2 separate regions of the Homo sapiens genome follow, and region 1 is linked to region 2. The links are contacts of gene promoters, found by promoter capture Hi-C in human tissues and cell types (Jung and others, 2019). All regions are on one chromosome and are shown on one strand. Each heading gives the region's core, a stretch centred on a gene start or on the middle of the fragment in contact. The rest is flanking DNA. Distances are from core to core; before and after follow the strand shown.

What was found. Contacts are between HindIII fragments. The study calls those that stand out against the background at their distance.
Region 1: a contact is called between a fragment that was not itself captured here and the fragment with the promoter of MAMDC2 in region 2, in 2 of the 25 tissues and cell types used here (dorsolateral prefrontal cortex and spleen).

The regions. Positions count from the first base shown.
Region 1 is chr9:70,119,971-70,126,105 of GRCh38, forward strand. All of the region lies in intron 5 of MAMDC2 (MAM domain containing 2), which reads left to right. Among named protein-coding and RNA genes, the nearest start is that of MAMDC2-AS1, 53 kb to the right of the region's middle. The HindIII fragment of the contact is 3,504 bases long and covers 1,836-5,339 here.
Region 2 is chr9:70,041,527-70,048,255 of GRCh38, forward strand. It overlaps MAMDC2 (MAM domain containing 2), which reads left to right and starts at 2,322. Exons shown (of 14, transcript NM_153267.5): 1 at 2,322-2,705; 2 at 3,058-3,171. The coding sequence starts at 2,672. LOC124902179 (a long non-coding RNA gene) reads right to left here and starts at 2,515. Exons shown (of 2, transcript XR_007061571.1): 1 at 2,428-2,515. RefSeq lists a silencer at 2,307-2,601. The HindIII fragment of the contact is 1,989 bases long and covers 978-2,966 here.

The DNA of each region.
Region 1 (6,135 bases), core at 2,338-4,837, 80 kb after region 2:
GCAACTCTCTGGCTGACCATCTGTGAATCCTGCTTAGCTCATATAAGTCACGGTATGCCCTACCAGCTCCCTTCTAATGGAATTACCGCACTGGTAGGCAGTTCTCTTGAGAAGAGTCCTTTTAAGGTACTGTAGCCCAGCTGCCTTCTAAATTGCCCCCTCAAACTCTGGAAGTGCATTTCACTGGCAACAAACTCCTTTTTCTCTACTCTTCCCCTACGGGTCCCTATAGTCAGTTTTTTGCCTTTAGATGTATGCACCAGTGCCAGGCTCCATCTCTGCATCACACACACACACTCCAGTATCACTGATCAACCTTTTTCAAGAACTCTGATTACTTTCATCTCAAGGTCCAGAGCAACTGCAGAGCTCAGAAATTTCTGCTCAAAAGGGAGGGGATGAGGTTACATGGCAGTTTCCTTCCTCTACCTCTTCCATGAGTGGTTCGCTTAAGCCCCCTCCTTTAGATCAAGGTAAGAAAAGGGAAGCAATCCCCTTGCCTTCCCTGGAGAGGTCAAAAGGAAACACATAGCAGGGCAGCTCTAACCCAACTCTTTATAGAAACCCCATCTCCAATCTCTCTGATTCATCTCGAGCCTTCTCATATGCACAGGCTACAAGGGAGAGATGGGCTAACACTTGTAGAGCTGGGGTAGGTGCCAGGGGCTGCCACTTAACATATTGACAGTCTAGCACCACTCTTTAGAAAATAGAGGTTGTTGTCACTTATTGTTTGGGGCTTTGAGGTCTTAGCACAGATAGGAGAAGTCTCACGTAATATTCATTCATGCTTACGTCATCCTTGAAAGCTGTATAAAAAGACTAGAGTCTGACTTTATCATAGTAAGGGCCACCAAAACCCTTACAACTAAAGGCTTGTGAAGATAACTGTCAGACTCATAGGGTGGAAAAACATGCATCATAACTCATTATCTTTGGGTGCCGTCTGCTCACCATGGCAGCAGACCAGTGGGTATTTCCCTCTGGCATACATCTCTTCAGACCAGGTTGTCTGCCCTACTGGGGAGACAGCTTGTCCAGACAACCAGCAACACTGGAGCAGACAACACAACTGGAGTGCAAATGTGGCCAGCAGGGCGCATCACAGCTGAGTCAGAGGATGCCTCTGGCACCGCGGCCAAGCCAAGGGCAGTCTTAGGGGAATGCTGGTGAGCCAGACTGCTTGAAAATAAACATTCAGGAACCGCCTTTAAAGTTCTTTCCCTAATGCAAGGGGAAATGGCTGACTACCAGGGGCCACTGGTTCCACATGAAAAGTTCAGCTAATACAGAGGGCTGCTGCAAGAAAGGAACAGACAGCCTCTTCAGGAGCAAGTGTGCATACACCAGCACTGCAGGCTCCATCCCAGAAGGGGCCTGAGCACTGGCAGCATGACTGAGAACTGTGATCTTTCTTTCAACTGAATTTGAATTTTTTTTTTGCCTAGAAACCTCAGGCTCTTTGTGTATAATCCAGAATTAGGTAATAATAGATTGATTTTCACTCTGTGTATGGCAAAGCAGAACAGATTGTAGAGGAATGGCAATAAGCTTCTCAATTCTTAATCTTATGGGGGAACCCATTTCCCCCATATAACCTCTTTCGTTTTCAGTTCAAGTTGTAATACTTTAGAATCTCTGTGGCCTGCAGGGTATCCAGTGATTTGGCAGATTAAAGGATTCTGTCTACTTAAAGTCCATCTATACCTAGTTTCATCCTACTTGAATCTTAACGATCTGACAAAGGAAAAAAAAAAAAAAGCCTTTTCCAGAGGTTCTGGAAGCTCTAGAGCCCTATGCCAGATAGGAGTGTTGGGTTCATTGAACTAGGCAGGAAGATTCTCCTAATATCAGACACTGGACAAAATTTTCCAAGAACTCCAGGCTACCATCATTGTTTTTAGAAAGGAGAATACAATGGCACCTGCAGCCACCTACCCATTGACTCCTCTTCCTCAGAACAGATTGTATCTGATGACACACTCAGCCTGGTTTGGCTGTCATTCCTCCAGCCTCTTCTCCTGGGGCAGACACCTGAATGACAATTTCTGAATCACCCCTAACAGTTCAACTGAGATAGTAAACTCATGATGAGCTACCTTTTGTTCCCCAATGAGAAGCTTAATGTTGCTCAAATTGTCAGTAAATAGAACCCAGCTTTGGCAACAAATGAATGATGGAAAGAAAAAGGGTACAAGAGCATGCGGTCTAGTCTGGTGGTTCTGTATGAGACTTAGTGTCAGCAGTCTTGGTCTTATTCCCAGCAGCCTCTCTGACTCACTTTGGGCAGATCATGTTGTGTTTTCTGGATGCTTTTTGGATCAGAAATGTGACTGTGGTTCACTTGGCCTAGCATCCTGAGCACAAGTTGCTAGTGAGGCACTTTGGCTGCAAATGCACAAAATATTGTCCACACAGCAGGTGAGTTACTACCCTTTAAAGACAACTCTCAGATGTCCGTCATCTGCAAGGAAGATGAATTTACAACAAGGCTGGCTGTGGAAGCTGACACTAAGCTGGGACTAGGTGGGAAAGAGATTTCCTGGGAGAGATGGCTATGAAGGCTCTGAGGAGAAAGGAGCCAGAGTAGCTGGGGACAGGCCCAGTGTCCTTATGGGGCACAGCAGCCATAGTGCCTAGGAGCCATGGCATTTTTAGGGGTCCATGACAATATTTTAATTTTATTTATTTGAAAATTGGAAGGGTAAAATGAATATAATAATTTCTAGCCTACATCATATACCTCTTTATGCCAATGTAGTAATAAACTAAAATGTTAAGATTATTTTATTTATTTTTATTTTTTTTATGGAGGAATGAGCCCACAAAAGTCATAAAGATGCCCTGGGTAGGGAAAACTTTCAGCTCAGGACGCAAACCTGACCCCTGAGGAAGAGGAGAACCTGGGCCGATGGGAGCTGCTGAAGGGCCCCATGGCAGACAGAATGGCCTGCCCCTCTGCTATGCTTGGTCACTGCCTGGGAGCAGCCCAGAGTGGTGTGGTCTTGGTACAAACTCTCCTGCAGGTCCAAAGGTGAGGTGGCTGGAGACCCAGTCAATGATGGTTCCTTCAGCAAGTTCTCTTAAAGGGGATCTCTGTGGCCCCTGCAATTAGGTATCCAGGAAACAAAGTATTACACATACATTATAATACAAAGAATTGTAGCTCTCCTCCACTCAGTTCTCCCTGCTCATATCTCACAAAAAGATTCTGTTTCATTGGTAAGTCATGTTACAAAGAGCAATGAAGACTTCATCTCTGTCTTTGATATTCACATGAGTTCTTAGAGAACAGAAGCAGATTACAGAAGCTAACTGGTCATAGGCATTCTCCACTACTAGAATGTTCTCGTCAAGGCTTGCTGGCCACCAGGAGTGCTTTAGAGGGTTTCCAAGCTTGGGATATGGAGGAGTGACCTTCCCTCCATATCAGAGGTTCTTTGATTCTATCCAGTCTGTCATTCCGATTCTTCCTTTAAAATTCCTGCCCAGAGGTGGCAAAGTGGAGCCAACAGTGGTTTCCAGCCTGCAGATATGTTTATTTGGCGCATACAAAGTTTAAAAAAATATGGTGGGGAGTGTTAGGCGTTGAATTGTGCACAGTCAAAATTCAAATGTTGAAGTCCTAACCCCCAGGACTTAGAATGTGACCTTGCTTGGACATAGATGGGTGCAGAGGTCATTAGCTAAGATGAGGTCATGCTGGAGTAGGGTGGGCCTCCAATCCAATATGACCGCAGTCCTTATTAAAAGGGGAACTTTGGGCACAGAGAGAAATGTACACAGGGAGAATGCCATGTAAAGATAAAGGCAGAGGCCTTCAAGCCAAGGAATGCCAAAGATTGCCAGCACACCACCAGAAGCCGGGAGAGAGGCCCAGAACAAATCCTTCCCTCACGGCCCTGAGAAGGAACAATCCCTGCTGACACCTTGATCCTTGACTTCTGGACTCCAGAACTGTGAGGCAATACATGTGTGTTGCTGAAGCCTCCCACTTTGCAGTATTTTGTGACAGCAGCCCTAGCAAACCACACAGGAAGCATCCCTTAAAAATGGATAGATTTGCCGTGAAAACCTGAATTCCAGGCTAGGATGGGGAAAGCCTGCAGCATGGGGCTGGGTGCCGGGCATCCGCTGCAGTAGACCCTGCTCTCTCAGGGAGGCTGGAGAACATGGGGGTGAGGGGCCAGGCTTCTCACCCCAAGCCGGTTATTGCCGCATAAGAATATGGGCCTAGGACTATCAGATGTTTTTATTTTTCCAGATAAGCTTGATTTCTGTTTCTCGATGTGGGGGAAATATGATTTCAAATACTGGCTACTAATTTACCACTCTCTATTTTCTCCCTGACTCAATCAACTTCACTCATACACTTAATCTGGCTGCCTCCTCTGAGAATTTGAGTTTGTAATCTCTGTTTATTCACTGTTGTGTGGTTTGGCAAAACGATAAGGTAAACTATATTCAAAGAAGATTATTCAGGGGATTCAGGATGTTGAACAACTTGCCACCAGGAGAAAGTGAGCTTTGACCTGTCCATTTTTCCCTTCTGCCATGTTGAGATGAGGACCTTTCTGAGACCATGTCTGTACATTAAATAACCATGTGTTGAGAGCCCACCACATACCGGGCTATGTACTAGATACACAGTAAATGTCCAGTGTATAAATGCATATGCTCCTCCTAATATTTGTTTCTGCTCTGCTCTTCATAATGGAGAAAAGGTATTCTTTATTTCCTTATTTTATTTTTTGGAGACAGGGTCTTGCTTATCACCCAGGCTGGAGTACAGTGGTGTGATCATAGCTTACTGCAACCTTGAACTCATAGGCTCAAGTGATTCTCCTGCCTCAGCCTCCCTAATAGCTAAGACCAGAGGTGCATGCTACCATGCCCAGCTAATTTTAAGAAAGCTTTTCTGTAGAGACAGGGGTCTCACTATGTTGCCCAGGCTGGTCTCAAGTTCCTGGCCTCAAGCAATGCTCCCGCCTCAGCCTCCCAAAGTGTTGGGATTACAGGCATGAGTCACTGCACCTGGCCAGGAATTCTTATTAACCAGAAATTATGTCATGGAAATGAAGATATTAAGCTGTAATTATTCTGAGCTTGTAAACAGAAAGGGCATTCTGTTGAAGCTGCATTGAATAGCACTTCTTTGTCATCACTCAAATGAATTCAGAAAAAATTGCTAACAATGATAGCTTACCCTTTATACAAAACAGGCTATAGGGCAAGCATGGTTCTAGAATTGTGAATGGCGTTGTAATTGTTAGACAGCTACAATGTACCAGGCACACGCTAAGCACTTTACATACATGACTCCATGTAATATTCATTGCCTCTATGAGGAAAGTATTTGATTGTCATTCTAGAGATCAGGAAATTGAGACCCAGACATACTCAGAAACTTGTTCAAGGTCACAGGGCTAGTAAGAAGTGGAGCAGGATTCAACCTCATTTCTCTTCAATGCTAAGTCAAGGCTGTCTCCATTCTGCCACATGGTTTCTGTGTTTCACCAAGATGCCCCTAATGGAGGCCAGCCTCTGGGTCCAGAGCCCACAAAGACCTGCCAAGAGTGGTACCACACATTCACTCCTCCAAATTTCAGTGTCGATTGACTTGCATGCTATTAACAACACACAAATTGCCATATAGTTGGAATTCAAAATCTTAGTTTCACTCAAAAAACACATGGTGACATCTTGCATTAATTGTAAACATGTGCAGGAGGGTCTCTCCATGCCCTTTTAAGAATAGATGGTAAGCTTTGTCTTTGTGTGCTCTTCAGAGTCTTATGACTCAAATAAGGATTGGGAGGGAGTGGCTTCTCAGGTAATGTTCTATTTCTCTCCATGGGTGTGTTCAGCTTGTGAAAACTTAAGCACTTGACAGATGACACATCTACCTTTCTCTGTGTATATTTTACTTGAATCAAAAGTAAGGAAAGTAAAAGGAATGGTCTCATCCTGTATTTAGCAGAGTGCAATGAACCCCATGGACCCATCTCTCAGCTGCAACATTTCTCCATCCACTCATGGCCAAACCTCTGTCAGCTGTAACTCATCCACTTCCTCCTCACCATTCCCACTGGATTATTTAGAATGCAGAATCACACCATTTCGCCTGAACCTCTT
Region 2 (6,729 bases), core at 1,072-3,571:
AGCATATAAATAAAAAAAGATACATATACACCAAATAGCACACACTAATGAATAAATTTTTGACCATTTGAATCATTGTTTACAGAAAACACATGAAAATTTGTTCCTACCTTTAAAAAAGGATTCCAGATATATTTTCCTTATTAGGGAGAAGGTTACTAATTTTCTAATACTGAAAGTGACATCTGAGTGAAGACCTCATTAGGCGGTGAGTTGTGTGGCTCTTTGTGGAAGAGCATTTTGAGCAGAAAGAACAGCCAGTGCAAAATTCTGAAAGGATAGCTGGACTGTGTTTGAGGATCAGCCAAGAGGTCTGTGTGGCTAGAGAAGAGTAAGCAGGGTGATTGAAGTCAGAGAAATAAGAGGGTGGGGCTGGGTGCAGTGGCTCACGCCTGTAATCGCAGCACTTCGGGAGTCCGAGGCAGGTGGATCATGATGTCAAGAGATTGAAACCATCCTGGCCAACATGGTGAAACCCTGTCTCTACTAAAAATACAAAAATTAGCTGGGCGTGGTGTCACACGCCTGTAATCCCAGCTACTTGGGAGGCTGAGGCAGGAGAATTGCTTGAACCTGGGAGGTGGACTTTGCAGTGAACAGAGATCGCACTCCAGCCTGGTGACAGGGTGGGATTCTGTCTCAAAAAAAGAAAAAGAAGGAAAGCAAGAAAAGAAAGAAAAGGGTGGAGCAGGTCCTATAGGGCCTGGTTGGTCATCGTGAAGACTTTGGACTTTACTAAATGACTTGGGAACTTGTTGGGTCTTGAGCTAAGGAGTGACATGGCCCAATTTCTGTATTAAAAGGATAACCCTGACTAGTGTGTTCAGAATAGAGTAGGGTGGGCAGGGCAGAAAATGAAGGGAGACCGTGGTCAGGAGGCCACTGCGGTATCCCAGGTTGATGGCAAGGGCAGCTTGGACCAACCAAGGCATCACCACCATGGGCACAGAGCATGGTCAGCATCTGCTGTGTTTTGAATCCTGAGCTGATAGAAATTGGCAATGTCTGACAGGAACGGATGAGCTGAAGATGCCTCCAAGTTTTCTCTCCTGAACAACTGGAGGAAAATAGTTCTTTTACTGAGATGAGGAAGACACAGGGGACGGGCAGGTTTGGCAAGAAATATGCAGCCTTCATGTTGGGACCTGTTAAGTATGAAATAGCTCTGAAGCATCCGATTGGAAATGTTGAGGTGGCAATGAGATCGAAGAGTCTGGCGTTAGTGAGTAGTCTGGGTTAGAAATATAAATGTGGGAGTTATCAGGCTATCATTGGTATCTAAAACTATGAGACTTGAGGACAGCATTGAGGGGCTGGATAGAGAAAGAAACAGGAGTGACAGGGAAGAACTTGGAGGCACTCTCATGTTAAGGGGTTACAGAGGTAACGCAAAGAGGCCGAGAAGCGGCGGCCAATGAAAGACCAGGAAACCCAGCGGTCTGGAAGCCAGGTGAAGGCATGGGAGCAGGTTGAACTGATGGCTCAACTGGAGTTTGTTAGGCCAGTGGTCCTCAAAGTATTGTTCCAAACCCGCTGCGGCAGCAGCAGCCTCTGGAAACTTATTAGGGACGTGCAGCCTCTCAGGCCCACTCCAGAGCTACTGGATCGGAAACGGAGGGTGAGGCCCTTCAGCAGATTCTGATGCACCCTCAGGTTTTAAAACCACTGCCCTCCTCACAAAATTGCCTGCACAAAATTATAAATGGGAGAAAGGAGGAGGAGGAGGAGGAAGAGGAGGGGAGGAAGAAGAACTCTTTACAAGAAAAGAATATTGTTGGAGACCCACTTAGTGCCCAAAGCAAACAGCTTCCTCAGAAGTAACTCCCTCCCCAACAACCCCCTCCCAGTGTAAAGCCTCCCATTAATCAATCTATCATGGCTCTTTGGAGAGAAGGAATGCCCCCATTTCACCGGACGGAGGGAATGCTGAGCACCAGGCATGCCAGACATTCCACCGGCTAAAAAAAGTGGGGGTGGTATTCCAGGGTTAGCATTGCTGGACCGTAAACGCTGAAACTCCTTAGATATAAAGCTTATTCCACCCAACCGTTTCCAAATTTTCCTCCAGGCTGTCCTTGGAGAATTCCACCCTCTTTCATTCTGGGGAGAAGAAGTTAAAATTAGGGCCAGCCCTGCGGGACTGACATGCCAGATGCAGGGAAGCTGTCCCCAGAAATAAGCGAGTTCCCACCGCGGCTGGGCGGGGCGGGAGCCTCGGGTCCCAACCCAGCGGAGGGACTCCTGGAAGGCCTGCCCCTTCCAAGTGTCTGCAAGGGCTCTGGTCCCAAGCTTTAAAATCCTGAGCGAAGGCACTGCGGGCCGACCTCTCCTCTCCCAGCCAGTCGTGGCTGGCCTTTCAAAGTGTGCAGTTGTCTCCTCCCTGTCCAGCCCCATCGTCGCCCAGGACCAGCTGGGCCGCGGTCTGACCTGAGGCTGCTGCTCAGCGCCGGGGCGCTGGCGCTCTCCATTCGAGCACCTTCCAGCATACCGCTCGGCTCCGGGAGCCGCTCTGCAAAGTTGGGCAGCTCAGAGCGCAAGCTTTGCCTCTCGACTTCTCCCTCCTTGGGTCCCCGGCGCCCCCGCCTCCCACGATCCCTTTCACTAGGAGCAGCCAGTCCCAGCGGGCTGGCAACTTGCACCCCTTCCTAGTCATCCTCCCTGAAACGCGACCATGCTGTTAAGGGGCGTCCTCCTGGCGTTGCAAGGTAAGGCCTGGACCCCGGGACAACCCCGGGGGCGCTCTGACGACTCGCCCCCGCTCCTGCTGCCCCCGGGGGTCCGGCTCACCGTGCTGGGCTGGGCCATCCGAGGGCGCCTCCTGATCCTCCGCAGCCGCTAACTCCCTCCCCTGGCCAAGCCTGGGGTGGGGGTGGGGGTGGGCGTGGGGTCGCTCAGTGGAGGCGCCCGGGGATGCTGGGGGACAGGTACTGCATCCCTCTCCCGCCCCCTCCCGCTCGTCTTTCCCCCACTTTCACCAGGTAGTCCCCCTGGGGCTCCCCGAGTTGGTGCAAAGGCTCCTGGGTGGAGCTCGAACTGAAACTCGCTTTGTGCCCGCAGCCCTGCAGCTCGCCGGTGCCCTCGACCTGCCCGCTGGGTCCTGTGCCTTTGAAGAGAGCACTTGCGGCTTTGACTCCGTGTTGGCCTCTCTGCCGTGGATTTTAAATGAGGAAGGTAAGGAGGCTCGGTGGAGAGGGGCGCGAAGTGAACTTTCTTCCTTGATGGCTTGCTTTTTTTTCCCACATGGGTAATGTTATCTTGGAGTTAATTCTCCGCGGCAAGAAAAGTGTGAGTCATGGATCCTCCTTCAAGCCCTCAGCTGTGCTGCAAGGGATGGCCGAGGCAGGAACGGGGCGGGCGGGAGGCCGCCCTTTGTTTACCTGGCCTATGGGTAGAAGCTTAAAATTTGCGTCTCACCCCAGCACTCCTTAATGGAAGGGAGAAACGGAGCACAGCTAATGATTGTTCTCCGCTGTGGGCCTCTGCAGGCACACCAGCTGTGTGCCTCTGCAGGCCAGCAACCTTTCTGGTCCTCAGGAGACATGTCTGTGAGTTGGGAAAAGTTGCATGGGACTAGTTCTCCTTCAGCTTTGCAGAAATGGTTCCACAATTCTGTGATGGGACGTCAGTGCTAAGACATCACGTCTGCCTTGACCCTGACAGTGTTTTTTGCTGCATGATTTCATCCTCACACTCCTGTTTGTAATCCTGCCCTGGACAAAAGAAACCATGTACACTGCCAAATGCCTGGGGTCCCTGTCTCACTGGTGGTCATTGTCTTACTACTCTATACTGTTTGGGTCCCAAGGACAAAGTTTAAATGTGGGGTCTTCTGAAGTGTCATCTTGCCTTTATATAGTTTTTTTTGTTTTTTGTTTTAAAGTGTGGTTCTCAGTACCCAATGGCAGGCGGCACTGGGTGTCCCTTCTTTCCTTTCTCTCTCTTTTGTCACCACCAGTGAAGCCTGATGCCCACAGACTATTTGGATTGGAAAATAGCCTTCTTTAAAAAACATGGTACCCTAGATGAAACCAGCTCACCTCCTTCCCCACTCAATTGTCCTCAGGCCGCAGATCCTCCCACCTCGCTCCCTGGGGGAGGATGGAGCCCGGAACCCCTGGTTAGATGTATGAACTGTCACCACAGCTCACTCTGCCCCAGGCTTCTACTCAGGGTTCTGCATACATTAGCTTCTCTGACCCTCACAGGTAGGTGATGTTGGACCCGTTTTACAGAGGAAGGAATCTCAGCCATAGAATATTCAAATGGCTAGTCCATATCACAGTGTCACTGAGTGGCTAACTCTGAGTGTCTAGTTAGGAAGAAACAGGAAGGAACTGGTTCAGTAGTAATCTCCATCTTTATCCAACAATTGCCAAGTCTTGACTACTACAGTCTACTTAGGGGTGGCTGGGAAAAAGCAATTCTTGATTTATTATTCGAGGGATTCCTATCTTGCTGATGGCTTTAGGAAAGTCTCTGTAATCTTGCCACTCACCCTTTCCCTATACTGGCTGTATGGAAGCATTGCGGGAGATGGCCTTAGAAATGCCACGAGACTGGCTTTGGAGAGCACACTCCTCCAGCACGGGGCTTCTCAAACCTCAGCTGCATCAGAATCACCTGGTGGGCTTGTAAGACACAGATTGCTGGGCCCCACTTCCTGAGTGTCTGATTCAGGGGGCCTGAGAATTTCTAACAAGTTCCCAGGTGATGCTGATGATGCTGGTCTCGGGACTACACTTTGAGAACTGCCGACTTCCACAGTCTGTGTACACACACACACAACCTGTGCTGTTGTTGGCTCTGAGTAGGTCTGGCACTAGGGTGAAGGAGCTACTTGCAGGACCCGAGAGTGAACAGCTACTTAAGTCTTGTTCCCTAAGCACTTGGCTTGCCTCATCCTAGTGCTGGCCCTGAGAAAAGGAAATCAACATCATTCCTTAAGCCAGGAGCCTTAGTTAGTCTCTGAGTTCCTGCCTCCGGCCCTCTGTCAGGATGGGGGCCCCCTCACAGCCTGCCTCTGGTCAGTGGGCATGCCACAGCCTGCTGAACACAACTGCCTCCCAGACCCACAGGAAGTCTCTCTGCTGAGTTGGCACCTCTGCCCCAGGACAGCAGTTAAACCATCCCCCTTCAGGGAAAACAGGAAGATGCTTATAGAAAAAGGTGATTACAGTTTAATAGTATAACGAAGGCACTGTGGCTTTGCTTTCTGCATTCTTTCTAACAACCACTGCTTTCTGGCTCAGGACTGGGACTACTGGGTTGGCTGGCGGAAGTTAATTCATTCTCCTCTGAGCACTCCAGGGTGGAGCAGGCAGGTTAGGCTCCAGTTGTTCCAGCTTCAGTTTGTCAAAGGCCAGAACTTGGACGTAACAGTGTACTGCAGGCTCCAGGGCAGTGAGGTAGGTGTGTGGCAGTTGCTGTGGTTGCCTAAGAAGACATCGCTAAGAATTTCCCTTATAAGCCCATTTCTAGGTTGGTAAATTAAAGATAATAAAATTCTTCCAGGCTGAAATTTGGCAAGCTGTTCACAAGCTTCTCTGCAAATGCACTTCTTCCTGCAGAAACCCTTTGAAACTGGTTCCATGGTTCCATTCACCTTCATGTACTGGATCCACCATGGAAAGTAGTGGGTTTCAGAGACTTTTGCCCACATGCACTTCTTTTTTTTTTTTTCTTTAAGTTCTGGGATACATGTGCAGAATGTGCAGGTTTGTTACACAGGTATAAATGTGAATGGTGGTTTGCTGCACCTATCATCCCGTCATCTAGGTTTTAAGCCCCGCATGCTTTAGGTATTTGTCCTAATACTCTCCCTCCCCTTGCGCCCCACCCCCAACAGGCCCCGGTGTGTGAAGTTCCCCTCCTTGTGTCCGTGTGTTCTCATTGTTCAACTCCCACTTATGAGTGAGAACATGAGGTGTTTGGTTTTCTGTTCCTGTGTTAGTTTGCTGAGAATGATGGCTTCCAGCTTCATCCATGTCCCTGCAAAGGACATAAACTCACTCTTTGGTATTGCTGCATAGTATTCCATGCTGTATATGTGCTACATTTTCTTTATCCAGTCTATCACTGATGGGCATTTGGGTTGGTTCCATGTCTTTGCTATTGTAAATAGTGCTGCAATAAACATATGTGCCAGATGCACTTCTTATATGTCCATGGTCCGTAGGTTAATTTATTGTGGAGAGAACAATGCAAAAGGCCAGAGAAGGAAGGTAAGTTGGGACACAAATCTGCGAACTGGGGTTTCATCACAGGAGAATCAAATCTGGAGGTAGTTGGAAAAGTCTCCTTGTCTCTAAATATCCCCTTTGCTGCCTGAAATAGTTTCTGAGGTTCATGCCTTTGATTTACAGTATTAAGTCCCTAGATGTCCCTGATTACAGTTCGAGTGTCTCTATTTCATGGCCACTTTAAAATATGCTTTATCTCCACTGGACACAGAATAGGTAAGTTTTGACCAGGCATTGTGTTGGCTTGGGTTATTTATCCCAATGGCAGTTTCCCCCAGGGAATGCCAGGTGCACCATACAGGGCATCGGGCACTGAAACCCAGTTTTGTCTACTTTCTCATTTTGCCCATGGTTGTCCTGCTTTCTTGATCTCCCTCTATTCTTTTTGTAGAATATTTTAATTTTCCCTAACTTGTCAAGGGAAGTGATACTATGTCAGACTCAAATTTGAACTCACTTCTAAATCTTAAGTTTGAATTGAATCCGGCAA